3 separate regions of the Homo sapiens genome follow, and regions 1 and 2 are each linked to region 3. Evidence: promoter capture Hi-C in 16 types of primary human blood cells and fetal thymus (Javierre and others, 2016). All regions are on one chromosome and are shown on one strand. Each heading gives the region's core, a stretch centred on a gene start or on the middle of the fragment in contact. The rest is flanking DNA. Distances are from core to core; before and after follow the strand shown.

Region 1 (3,904 bases), core at 965-3,464, 700 kb after region 3:
TCTTTAATCCATCTTGAGTGAATTTTTGTTTAATGGTGAAAGGTAGTGTTCCAGTCTGAAACAGATTCTTCCTCACAGACCTCAGAAGGAAGCAACCCTGCGAATACCTTGATTTTGGACTTCTAACCTTCAGAACTGTGACGAAATAAATTTTTTGTTGTTTAAGCCAAGTTTAAACATGCTTTGTGGTATTTTGTTAGGGCATTGCTGGCAAATTAATACTCATTCCTTAAAGGTACATATGAATACGTATGTAAGAGTAAATAAGGGTTTGTAAGTTGTTTTCCCCAGCATCTAGCAGAAAGCTTGGTACATAGTAAGTGCTTAATAAACACGTGTTAAATGGCTGAATAGATGAATACATATCTGGTATGGTGGATCATATTCCCAGCAAGACATGCCAGAGGAGAGGTGCTTGAGACCTCTGCTAAGGAGAAAGACATGGCTGACAGTGAGAATCATCCAAAGATGGGACTGGCTATCTATCTGTAATCAACATCCAGGCAAGTGTTTGCCACTGTGGTGAAGAGGAAGTCCTTGGAGCCCCAGTTGGCAGGAGGTACAGCCATACTCAGAAGGCCTACTGGCACCCATATCTGTGACTTCTGTGTCTGGGGGCAGGCACTCTCATCATACTGGACTAGGGTCAGGCTCACTCCCTGGTGAAGGAAGCTGGCAAGAATAAGTAGTGTCCCCGTAGGTGAATGGATCTGGGTAGCCAACGGGGTGTGCAAAGAGAATCTCAGAATAGCAACATGGAAGGCCAGGGGGATGTGGCTCAGGACCTCAGGCACAGGCTTTCTGAAGGTACACTGACACCTGGGAAATGATGTGAGGGTTCAGGGGTCAGCGTAACACAAGGTTCCCCATCTTAAGCCCATCCAATTGGGAGAGGAGGAATTCGAGGCCTCTCCCCAAAAAGGAATAGATATGAGGGCTAGGCTGGCAGAGGAGCCAGGGCCATCCAGTAGAGAGGGGTCTGGGGCCAACGGAAGCAGAAGGATGAGAAAGGAGGCCTCAACACAGGGTGGGTGGAGGAGGAAGAGTTAAGGTGATAATTCTATAGCAGAAAAGAAGAAGGGAGAAAAAAGGATTTTTGTAATTGAACTATTCTAATTGACTGCTGACTCCACACTGTTCAGATCCACCAGGTAATTGCTCAAGTCTCCATTTCATTTCATCTGTGTAGCTGTAGCTATAGCAGTTAGTTGGGGGTGGGGAGGGAGGGTTTAAGAAGTGATTAGGGGAAATCACTCCTTGCAGGCCTTAGGTTATTCTTGTTAAAAATGATGCCAGGAAAATCATAATTAAAATGGGAACATGGTTAATAACAAGAGCCCCTTTCCTTGAATGTGAAATAAATTTTAACAGCTACCTCAGCTAAAGAACCCAACACATTCGACCTTCCAATAAGGGTTAGCAGAGTTTTCTATCAGAGAGAAATAGAAACTATAAATCAAATGTTTCATATCTAAAGTCCAAGCCAGCTCCCATGAGTAAACTTCCACTCTCCAACAGCTTGTATTTTTTCACTGGCTATTAGACTACCTTGACTCTGGAACTATATGGATACTGTTTCTTCATCTTAAATCTATGAAACTACCTTCAAGAGCTATAGTCTTGACTACTCATGACATACTATCCGAGATAAAGAAGCTGGTCAATAATAAATGTGCCTGTGTGTGATATTCTATCAAGTGCGTGTGGTTGAAATGGAGTTGTTGGAAGGAAAGAGAGTAGGGGGGTGGGGAGAGTCGAGGAAAAATTCTATAGAGTGGGGGCAGGTGGCAGGAAGCATGTTTAAATGTTGGTTTAAATTCATTTTAGAGAAGGGTTGATGTTGATAATCAGATTCTCCTGATTCAAGCACAGTGAAAATTTACCTCTCCTGAGCCTGGATTTTCCCTGGTCTCCCCAAATTTACTATGGGGCCCAACAACATCCCTGACTGAGAGAAAGCTTTGGTCTCGAAGGAGACAGGCTGCTTATAGAAACTTCAGGTCTATTTTTCTGGGATGCTGTTAGCTAACTAGAAGTGTGCTCAGGGCTATTTGGCTGACTGATACCCTCTTTCTGTTGAAAATGTAAGAGAATTCTTCCTTAGCAGTTTGGTTCAAGGCAAAATAAAATATGCTCCCGTGGTCACAGTCACGCTCCACAAACTCCCCAGAGACTCTTTGATTATCTTAATGGTCCTGCTGTAGACCGGCAGTGAGATCTCAGGGTGTGGTGCAGTCAGTGCCTCTGTGGGGAGCCGGATCTCTGGGGAGCACTGAGGCCTTTGCAGCAGGCAATTGAGTCCTGCTGACCCAGCCCAGCACCTTCCATGAGATAAGGTCTAGGGGCCCCAGGATCCCTCAGTACCCTCCCCTTCTCTCACACCCTCCCCTGGGTACCTCGTTTCAGGCTATGGGAGACTTCAAATCATAGCAATTAAGTAGATGAAAGTGCAGCATCTATTTCAGTTATTAAAGCTTACCTCCTTCCTAGGCAGCCACCCTTCCAGCTGCCATCGCTGGCCCTGTGCTGCGCTATCCAGTCCAAGCTCACAGAGGTCTCTTGGAAAATGACCTTGGAAATCTGAAAACATGACTGACACATTTCCACACCCATTCAGGCCAGACCTGTGGTTTATCTCTGGCCAAGTACACATCAAGTCTTCTAGCAGATGCCACCAGCCTTCCCATCTACAAATGCCTTCCCCCAGTGATTCTCACTCCTAGATTCCATTAGAATCACCTGGGGAGTGTTTCAAAGGAAAATTACCAACACCCAGGCCCCGCCTCAGAGATTCTGGTTCAATTGGTCTGGAGTGAGGTCCAGCCTGGCAGCCTCATGTTTCAAAAGCTCCCCAGGTGATTCTCACCTGCCGCCAAGGTAGACTATTGGGTCCTAATCCAAGTCCTCCGGGTTTTTCTCCACAAGGATAGATGACGGTTCCGAGTTAATACCTCACAACGTTGGTCTCACTTATTGCTTGTTTTTCTGATAAATTCTCAGAGGGGATACCTAAGTTCAGAATCTGAAGGTCATTGAGGTTATCCTCAATGTACCAACTAGAATAAACACCGTCTATTTATTCAGATTGAGCAAATATTTGCTGAATGCCTATTATGGACCAGACGCTGTGCTGGGAACTAAGACGTGAGCATGTACATCAAACATTTCCTCCACGTATTTTGTGCTCCCTTCTGCCCCTTCAGATTTGGAAACTTGGTTTCCTGTTTCAAATTCAATCTCTCTCTCTCCCTCTTTTTTTCCCTCTCTCTGCTCCATCTCAACTTTTATATATGATGCATGTACCCAAATACATATACTTATAAATCTTACAGATCTTGTGCAGCAGTAGCTAATCTCCTACACATTCCTAAGGCTCAGTGTAATTAGAATATGAGAAAGCACTCATCCTGCGTATGAACACACCTCATGCTCTCTTCTTTCATGATTTTTATCTCCTAATCAAGTTTCTATTATATTTGCCTCGGGACTTAACTACCGTTAAATATTCAAGAAACGCAAATAAAAGACTTTTTCTACTCTCTCTGCTCTGTGCTTTCAAGTGTTTAATTTCCTGACCCAACTGTCAGGAAAAACACAATCCTGAAACTCCACAACCAGATTTCATAACTCTTGTGTATGCCTGAACCCTTGAGGGAAAGGGAAGAAAATCCTGCCACGGCAAACGAGAGCCTGAAAGACCAAAGATCTGGGACCACAGGAGTGGCCCTAATTCATCATTAGTCACCCCGCCTGTGTGCTACTCTGCCTCCCGCCTGCCTTCCCCGTGGCTCCCTATTTCAATGATGTCTCCATCTGTCTTCCTCCTTGTCTGCAGCTGATTACAGTCTGTGACTCATTCATTCCTGTACTCCCATCCTCCAACAGAGATGGTATATAACAGTTC
Region 2 (4,548 bases), core at 1,896-4,395, 600 kb after region 3:
CTGATCTTTGACAAACCTGAGAAAAACAAGCAATGGGGAAAGAATTCCCTATTTAAAAATGGTGCTGGGAAAACTGGCTAGCCATATGTAGAAAGCTGAAACTGCATCCCTTCTTTACACCTTATACAAAAATCAATTCAAGATGGATTAAAGACTTAAACGTTAGACCTAAAACCATAAAAACCCTAGAAGAAAACCTAGGCATTACCATTCAGGACATAGGCATGGGCAAGGACTTCATGTCTAAAACACCAAAAGCAATGGCAACAAAAGCCAAAATTGATGAATGGGATCTCATTAAACTAAAGAGCTTCTGCACAGCAAAAGAAACTAACATCAGAGTGAACAGGCAACCCACAAAATGGGAGAAAATTTTCACAACCTGCTCATCTGACAAAGGACTAATATCCAGAATCTACAATGAACTCAAACAAATTTACAAGGAAAAAACAAATAACCCCATCAAAAAGTGGGCGAAGGACATGAACAGACACTTCTCAAAAGAAGACATTTATGCAGCCAAAAAACACATGAAAAAATGCTCACCATCACTGGCCATCAGAGAAATGCAAATCAAAACCACAATGAGATATCATCTCACACCAGTTAGAATGGCAATCTTTAAAAAGTCAGGAAACAACAGGTACTGGAGAAGATGTGGAGAAATAGGAACACTTTTACACTGTTGGTGGGACTGTAAACTAGTTCAACCATTGTGGAAGTCAGTGTGGCGATACCTCAGGGATCTAGAACTAGAAATACCATTTGACCCAGCCATCCCATTACTGGGTATATACCCAAAGGACCATAAATCATGCTGCTATAAAGACACATGCACACATATGTTTATTGTGGCACTAGTCACAATAGCAAAGACTTGGAACCAACCCAAATGTCCAACAATGATAGATTGGATTAAGAAAATGTGGCACATATACACCATGGAATACTATGCAGCCATAAAAAATGATGAGTTCATGTCCTTTGCGGGGACATGGATGAAGTTGGAAATCATCATTCTCAGTAAACTATTGCAAGAACCAAAAACCAAACACCGCATATTCTCACTCATAGGTGGGAATTGAACAATGAGAACACATGGACACAGGAAGGGGAACATCACACTCTGGGGACTGTTGTGGGGTGGGGGAAGGGGGGAGGGATGGCATTGGGAGATATACCTAATGCTAGATGACGAGTTAGCGGGTGCAGCGCACCAGCATGTCACATGTATACATATGTAACTAACCTGCACATTGTGCACATGTACCCTAAAACTTGAAGTATAATAATAATAATAAAAAGAAAAAGAAAAACAGTTAACAGAGTCACCCATTGGAACATAAATCCATCCCAGATTAAATTAATTTTATAAAACAGTCTGACAAAGACTTTGAAAGAATTATGTTTAGAAAACTCCAAGAGACTAATAAGGCACAGTTTCTATTTTAAAAGGGCAAGAAATTATGAAACTACAGAAACTGAGTGGAAATGAAGAGGTCCCAATTTAAAACCTTATAAATGAGAGAGATCATTAAATTTAAATTTCACATAATGGTATAAACACTAACATGGACATTCAAAAGGATGATTCATATATGAAAACTTGTATTAAGAAATTCACTCAGAATATATCACAGAGAAAATACACATTAAAAGGCAGTTAAGAAACAGAGAATAGAATGAAAGATTTCTAATAAAACGGGAGATGTTCCAGAAGAGAATAGAAAACTAAGAATTTTCCAAAATTTAATAATGCAAGAGTCATCAAATCAAGACTATTCTCTGACTACTAAGCAGGAAAAAGAAATTCAAATCCACATCTGACACTCCTGGTGAACCTGCAGACCATCAAGAAGAAAAGGGACAGAAAAGGGAGAAAAAAGCTTAAAAGCTTCCAGAAAGAAAAGCCAGATTGCCTTAAAAATTAAAAACTGGCATTTCAAATGACTGTAGATTTCCCACCACCAGCATAGAAGACAGATGACAATGGAGTTATGTCTTTTAAATGCTAAGGAAAAATAAATGTCAACCTAGAATTATAGAGCCTGTTAAAATACTGTTCAATACTGACAAAATAAAGGTAATTTTCCATTGCAAAAAGACAAAGTAAAAGATATGCAAAAGGATGTACTTCAACAAGAAGAAAAGTGAATTCAGAGAGTAAACATGGAATGCCAGAAATAAGATTTGAGAACAGAAAAGTATTGAAATCAATAAATTTAATTAGCTATTGACATAAAAGTTGACAACTTTTGTATGTTTAAAGAATGAATAAAGCTAAACTTTAGACAATAACAAGAAGCTATGCAAGAGTTATGCTCAGTGGATAAAGGGCACTAGGTCCACATTCAGAAGAAGGATAAAACTACTTAACAATTTGAACTTACAAATATTTATAATGGAGTGTGAATTTTTTAAAGGGTAGGGGAAGCTATCAATAAAAGAATAGTGCTACAATCTTTATCTTCCAAACCAGCAGGGAAAATCTAAGAAGTTGATGGTAGGAATATAGAAAATTTATCAATCAACAGAAGGCAAGAAGGAAAAAAGATAAAAGAAGCAAGGGACAAGGATGATAAAAACACAAAACAAAAATATCAAAATAAGTCCAAATATCTCATGGTGTGTATACAGATTAAAATTTCAATAAAACATCAGAGAATATCAGATTGGAATTTGTTTTAAATATGATTATTATCACTTAAAGCAGACACCTAAAGCTTTATACCTAAAGCAAAACACCCAAAAATTAAAAATAAAGAGCATGCCACTTAGGAAAACAATTTATGAATAGTAAAACGAAGACGACCAAAATTCTCACTTTTTGGTAATATACCACAGAATAGTGCATTTAAAACTGCATGCGGTGACCCATAGAATCGTGAATTGATTTAGTGAATCACAACCAGCATTTTTTAATTGAAAAGAAATGCAATATTAAAAGAAATAAATAGAATAGGATAAGTCAGAATAGACGGAATATAACAGATATCAGAGTTCTTCATGGATATAGAAGTATCGTTTCAGTAAACTTTCATTTGTGGGATATGTGTGTGTGTGCACATGCAAAAGTTGCAGTGCAAAATGCATTTCTATCTTTTTTAGTGTGAGAAACCCTAGTGTAGAGAAGCTCTTGCAAGTGTACATAAGGAAACATGTACAGGGATGTTCACTGCAGTTATTATCTGTAATCAGAAAAAATTGTAAACATGTTCACCAACAGGAGAATGGACAAATTCCTTGAGGTAAATATGAAGACAATGAAATACTATACAACAAGGAAAGTAAATAAACCTTCATGTGTCAACATGGATAAATCTCCAAAACAAAATATTGCATGAATAAAAGCAAGATGCAAAAAGATATATACCATATGATAAAAATTTATACAAAGTTTGGAAGCAAGCAAAAGACTACTTTATATTCTTACAAATACACACAGAGAATATGTAGAGTAATGGCATAAAAACCTGTAGGGGACGATAAATATAAAATTCAGGAGGATCATTAACTCTTGAGAATGCAGGGTGGGTAGTGGGTATGAAGTCAAGGAGGGCTACATAAGAAGCTTCAACTAAATCTACAATGTTTTATCAACCAAAAAAATGGAAGTAAATTTGGGGGAAATGTTAAAATTTGTTAAGGCTGGGAGAAGGCTATATGGATGTTAATAATTTACTTCTTATATTTTTGTATATATTTGAATATGTTTATGGCCAAAAATTATAAAGTTTCAAAATCTGTAATTTTAGTCCCTGGGCTCATCACACGGTCTGGCACAAGCTTCCACCCTCCCCAGTTCTCATGCATGGCTCATCAATATTCCGTACATTGACCCACTATCTTACTCCTAAGCAAGCAGACATTTCCAGGCTCATGTCAGGCAAAAGAAAATTCCCTAGCCAGAACTGTGACTCTCACAAATTTATTTTTACCTGCAGCCAAAGCAAGGTTAGAACTCAGCTCTCTGTAAGAAAAGGCCACCACATTAGCCCTGAGTGACAATAGAGTTTCCATTATGCTTCTGATGAGCAGAAGATGAATGTATAGCTTTATTCCACCTAATGAACATTTCAATCTTCTAATAAACACCCTAATAAAGAAAAATGGAGACTTAACTCACTTTTATTATCACAACTGACATGTCGAAAGGTCTTAATTGGTCTGAAAACAACTTCCAATAATAATACCCTCCTTAATTGATTCATTAACAGGGCCCCTACTGAGACAGAAGTGCTAGTTCGGGAAAAGGAATGAAATACAGCTGATTTCCCACTGAGTGGCTATGATCCCTTGGCCATCAACTCTCCAGGCCACTGAAGAGGGTATCAGGGTGTCCAATACCTGGAATCATTCTTCTAGTGGGCACAGACATGAAGCAGTATCGCCACACACTCACCATTCCCTTAGTAGCGTAACAAAAGACAGATAGAATCTCAAGGAATTCTCTCTTAGTATGAGATGAATCTGCAAATAAACAACCAGGCAAGAGGATACCCTGATAGCAAGAGATTAAAGCTTTTTATGAGATTGAACAAAAATTAC
Region 3 (4,255 bases), core at 361-2,860:
ATTCTAGAAAGAGAGCTCAGGACCCTGTGGGACCACCATTCTCTGACATGTTTTGTAGCTTAGGCAAACAGATACTTGCAGTATGCAGAAGGAAGTTCAACGTTGTATAAGATACAGAGAAGAAAATATAGGTGAAAGTGATAGATGTGTGAGTCTGAGGGGATGAATGAAGAAAATTTCTAATTTTTCTTTATTCATTCAGAACTTACGGCTACTTGATGCAGTTTAGCTAATCTCCATGTGTACTTCTTACACATTCATTAAATCTCTACATACTTTTTTTTTCTAGTTCTTTACAAAATAATCTCCGATGTTGCTCTCCATTTAAGGAAACTAAATTGAAAGACTCCTCTCGCTTTCTGACTATATATTTATCTTCTTCATACTTCCCCCACCACATGACTTAGCATGGATCTCCCAAGTTCCTTCCCCAGCTCCAGCCCCCAGCTCTTCCCTTGAATTGGATTTTTCTTCAACTATTACTCTTTTTCCTATGCTCCTGCCAAAATCTAGTTTAGTATGCTAGTTAGCGGGACATGTTTCAGTTTTGTACCCTCATTAGGATATCAAAAATATATACTTCACACTTCAATGTAAAGTTAATATTTTCTTCCCTTCTCCTTTCCTCCCTTTTCCCTCCACCTCCCTCCCTTTTTTCCTCCCTCCCTCTCTTTCAATTCACAGGCCCAGCAACAGCACCTGCTTCACAGAAACAAGGCTGGTCCTGTTCTGATTTCTCTAGTCTTCCTTTAAAAACTAAACGGAGATGCACAGTCCCTCTTCCTGACACACACAGAAGTGAAAGGAGACACACAGAGGGAAAACACCACAGGCAAAACAATTCCCTTTTTTGGAGGGACATTTTTGAAACTTAATCTCTCCCCAGAAACCTGAAGTTCTCCTCTTTGCCTTTGTCCTTACAGTCCTGGTGTGGGGGCAGAATGTTTCCTGATTTAGCTGTCCTGGCCTCTAAATCTGTTTCACTCTCTAGCCATCTTACTGGGTTCTTGCTCTCTTTTGCCTCTCTCTCCTCTTGGGTCTCTGGGGTGTGTGTGTGTGTGTGTGTGTGTGTGTGTGTGTGTACTATTTCTCACTTGGGGGCTCATTTCTAATTAAGTAATCCAAGAGGCTAAAAAATGCACAAAACAACCAAATGAAACCTCAAATTAGATGGAAAATGGCTCAGATGGGTCCCAATCTCTGGGAGTTCTAGTTAAGCAAGCAAACAAAATGGGCTGGGATAAATGATTATTGTAACTCAGGAAGATTAGAAGAAAATGTAATTAGCTCCCCAGCTACTTCTTGTTCCCCAGCCTTTTTAAGAGTGTCCAACGCCCCACCCGTGAATGTACCCAAGGCTTCCTTATACACACCAAAAAGTCCCCACTGCAACGCTGGGAGGGTTAACAGAGCTGGTACCCCAGCCTGCCAGCTCACCAAAGGAGAGAGCGGTGAGGCTCAGAGCCCGCCCCCTGCCAAGCCGCCCAGCCAATGGGCACCTGTGGGGAGTGTGGCGCTGTGTCCCATTGGCTGCCAACCTACATGCATAAGAAAGAAAGAGAGAGGCAGGCAGGGCAGCATTGTTATCTTAAGACACTCATCTGGTGTCTGAGTCTGCAGGTGACACTGCTTAGGTACGGAGCGCGGAGTCGGAGCGGGGACGCGCCGGGCTGCAGCTCTGGGATGCAATCCGCCTGCCTCGCAAGCTGCTCGCCGCTGCGCTGGCAGCGCTTACGCTGAGCTCGGAGGATCCCATTAGGACTTGCCCGGGGATGTGCACCTGCCGTGCGCTCCGAGGTCAGTGGCAGGTCTGCAGGCAGCCGAGGGAGCGGTGAAGCCGGAAGACCTGTCTCTGCCCATGTGCAAGGCAGTGATTTCGGGTGAGAGAGCGGGTGGGTGAGTCTCTTTAGAGTTGGAAAGAAGGCAAAATCTTGGGTTTCTCCTCGGCGGAGGGACAGGGGACTCCCCCAGTTGGGTCTTGCACTTCCCTTACCTCTCCCACCCCGCGTGCGCCCCGGCCCAGTGCCGAAGCCCCACTTCAAAGATGCTCTGGGAGACCGGGATCCTGGCTGCTCAGCGGGAAGGCAGCAGGCAAGTGGTCTAACGTTGGCGGCGGTGGCGGTGGCGGCGGCGGCGGCACCGACAGTAAAGCGGGGAGCAAGAGAATTTGAAAAGAGACATCCGCTCCCTCTCACACGCTGAGGGGGAGGCATTCGCGTTTCCCCAAATGAGAAAGAACCACAAGAAATCATGAAGTAAAAACTTTGGAAAGCTGCCACTGGAGATGTTGCACAAAAACCTGGAATCTTTTAGGAGTCTCCTCCCAGTCGTTGAAGGTTTGGGGAGCAGCTGATACAGCAAGGAGGGCTCTTGCAAGGATTCAAGGTAACAGTGCAGGGTTTCGGTGATTTTTCTCCCCTTTTCATTGTCCTTTTTGGTGTGTCCGTTGGTAAAGGGACCATTTTGCTCTCATACAACCCTCTTGCCCTGGTGCCTGGCAGTGGCAGGCAGAGGGAATGATGCCACCTCTCCTAGTTTCTGTCTTGTGGAGTTGAGCAATGGACTTTGGGGTTGAGCTAGAGATTGCTCTGGTATTGCCTCCTGGTGTTGCATGGCTGTCAGAGGGTTTGGGCTCCCTGCCTGACCTATATTGCTTTTGCCTGGTTTAAGTCCTCAAAGTTAGTGCAACTCCTATTAGCTTCAGAAAATTCAATAGGGCTGCATAATTGCAGAAGATGACGAGGACTTTTGCCTGCCCAGCTGACGCTGGGAGGTTCATTATGTTTGGGAAGGAGCCCAAAGAGCTGAGGTTACAATGCACGATATCTATATTATCGTGCTCATAGAGCCCTATGGCATGTTTCCCATGCACATGCAGTCAGGAAAATAAAATTCCAAACAGTGAACCCTGTAGGTTGCAAATAGTCTCCCCAGGGTGGTGGCAGAAGCCCCATTGATTGACTTGAGCCTGGCAGAGCACTGGAGACACTAGGGAAGAACATTGCTGTGCTGAAAGGTGGGATGTGCTGGTATCATCTAGCAGATCTCTGTCTCTGTTTTTGTGATCATCTGGGTACACTGTCGAATGCTGCCTGTGGTGTGTGTATGTATGTGTGCTTGTGCTCACAGCTGTATGCAGGAAACAGGCTGCCCACAGAAGAACCAAGCATGTCCAGCACCCTGTCCAAATCACGGATGCCTGGAGTGTTCCTGCCTAGTAGGAACACGAACTTGTGAGCTGTTGTTCCAGCCCAGAGGACTCTTCTCCTCACCAAGCAGTCCCTCTGCATGGTACATATTTATCCAGGGTATATAGACCTAAGCCAAATGTTAACCAATGTTCAAGCTAATGCACTGTAATGTGATTGAACAGACCCCTCTGTAAAGAATTGTGTGTGTGCTCTTTGCAGCCCTAGGAGCAGGGTGCTATGAGCAGAAACAAATGTTTTGTTAAAAGGATAACAATTATAAAAGGTCAAGCTTATAGTTGGGTAATCTAGGCCTTATTCAGCAGGGACATTGTTATGTCAGCATAGACCAATCAGAGGGATAAAAGGTATATTATAAGTCAAGTATTTCTGCTTCTGTCCTTCTCCAGACATGTGCATGTTGAAGTGACTCTCTCTGACCATGCTCGCTAAAATACATGCAATGCCAGTATTAACCAAGCAACTAAAGTATACCAAATCCCCCGGGGGGCAGTCTGATGACATCAGGCAACAGCAAAGTGATGCTGGAGTTTGTGTGCTTTCCCTCCTGACTCACACAGTTGTGTGTATGTTATTTGTTTAAGGCATGACCCTCTGGAGTCCCCCTTCACCCAGAATAAGTTGCTTTGCAGCACTGAGGGCATGACCGAGACATGCTGCCACAATGATCCTGTCTTATCAATATCAGAGCTGCTGCCTACTCTAGGAAAAGATGCATGCCTTGCTTCTTTGAGGAGGATATAATTTGAAAAGGCACAGAGCATGTATATTGTGAAATATTTGAGATAAAGGAAGCAAATGTCACACCATAGTCTCCCCTTCTGGAGGTCAGCTGGCGCCAAAGTGTTTGACAGCTGGGCTGCAGCCATGGAGAAGACAGGAGCATTCTTGACTCTTACTTCCCCTCTTCACCAAAAATGGAGCTGGCTTTGTCTCCCAGAATGGAGTGATGTGTGCTGCAGTGTGGGCACAAGAAAGGAGGTGAGGAGAAAAGGGCTGGGGAAGGAGGAAGGTTCCTGCTCTGTCAGCATGGGGCTGGTCTCAAA

Evidence for each region. The method cuts DNA at HindIII sites, captures the fragments that hold promoters and counts their contacts. A CHiCAGO score of 5 or more calls a contact.
Region 1: a contact is called between a fragment that was not itself captured here and the fragment with the promoter of BRINP2 in region 3, in 1 of 17 cell types (endothelial precursors). The highest score is 5.4, in endothelial precursors.
Region 2: a contact is called between a fragment that was not itself captured here and the fragment with the promoter of BRINP2 in region 3, in 1 of 17 cell types (endothelial precursors). The highest score is 6.3, in endothelial precursors.

Annotation. Positions count from the first base shown.
Region 1 is chr1:177,869,616-177,873,519 of GRCh38, forward strand. No RefSeq gene overlaps it. Among named protein-coding and RNA genes, the nearest start is that of SEC16B, 98 kb to the right of the region's middle. The HindIII fragment of the contact is 515 bases long and covers 1,958-2,472 here.
Region 2 is chr1:177,764,243-177,768,790 of GRCh38, forward strand. No RefSeq gene overlaps it. Among named protein-coding and RNA genes, the nearest start is that of LINC01741, 66 kb to the left of the region's middle. The HindIII fragment of the contact is 848 bases long and covers 2,722-3,569 here.
Region 3 is chr1:177,169,348-177,173,602 of GRCh38, forward strand. It overlaps BRINP2 (BMP/retinoic acid inducible neural specific 2), which reads left to right and starts at 1,611. Exons shown (of 8, transcript NM_021165.4): 1 at 1,611-2,385. RefSeq lists enhancers at 1,249-1,838, 1,839-2,427. The HindIII fragment of the contact is 5,424 bases long and covers 1-3,478 here.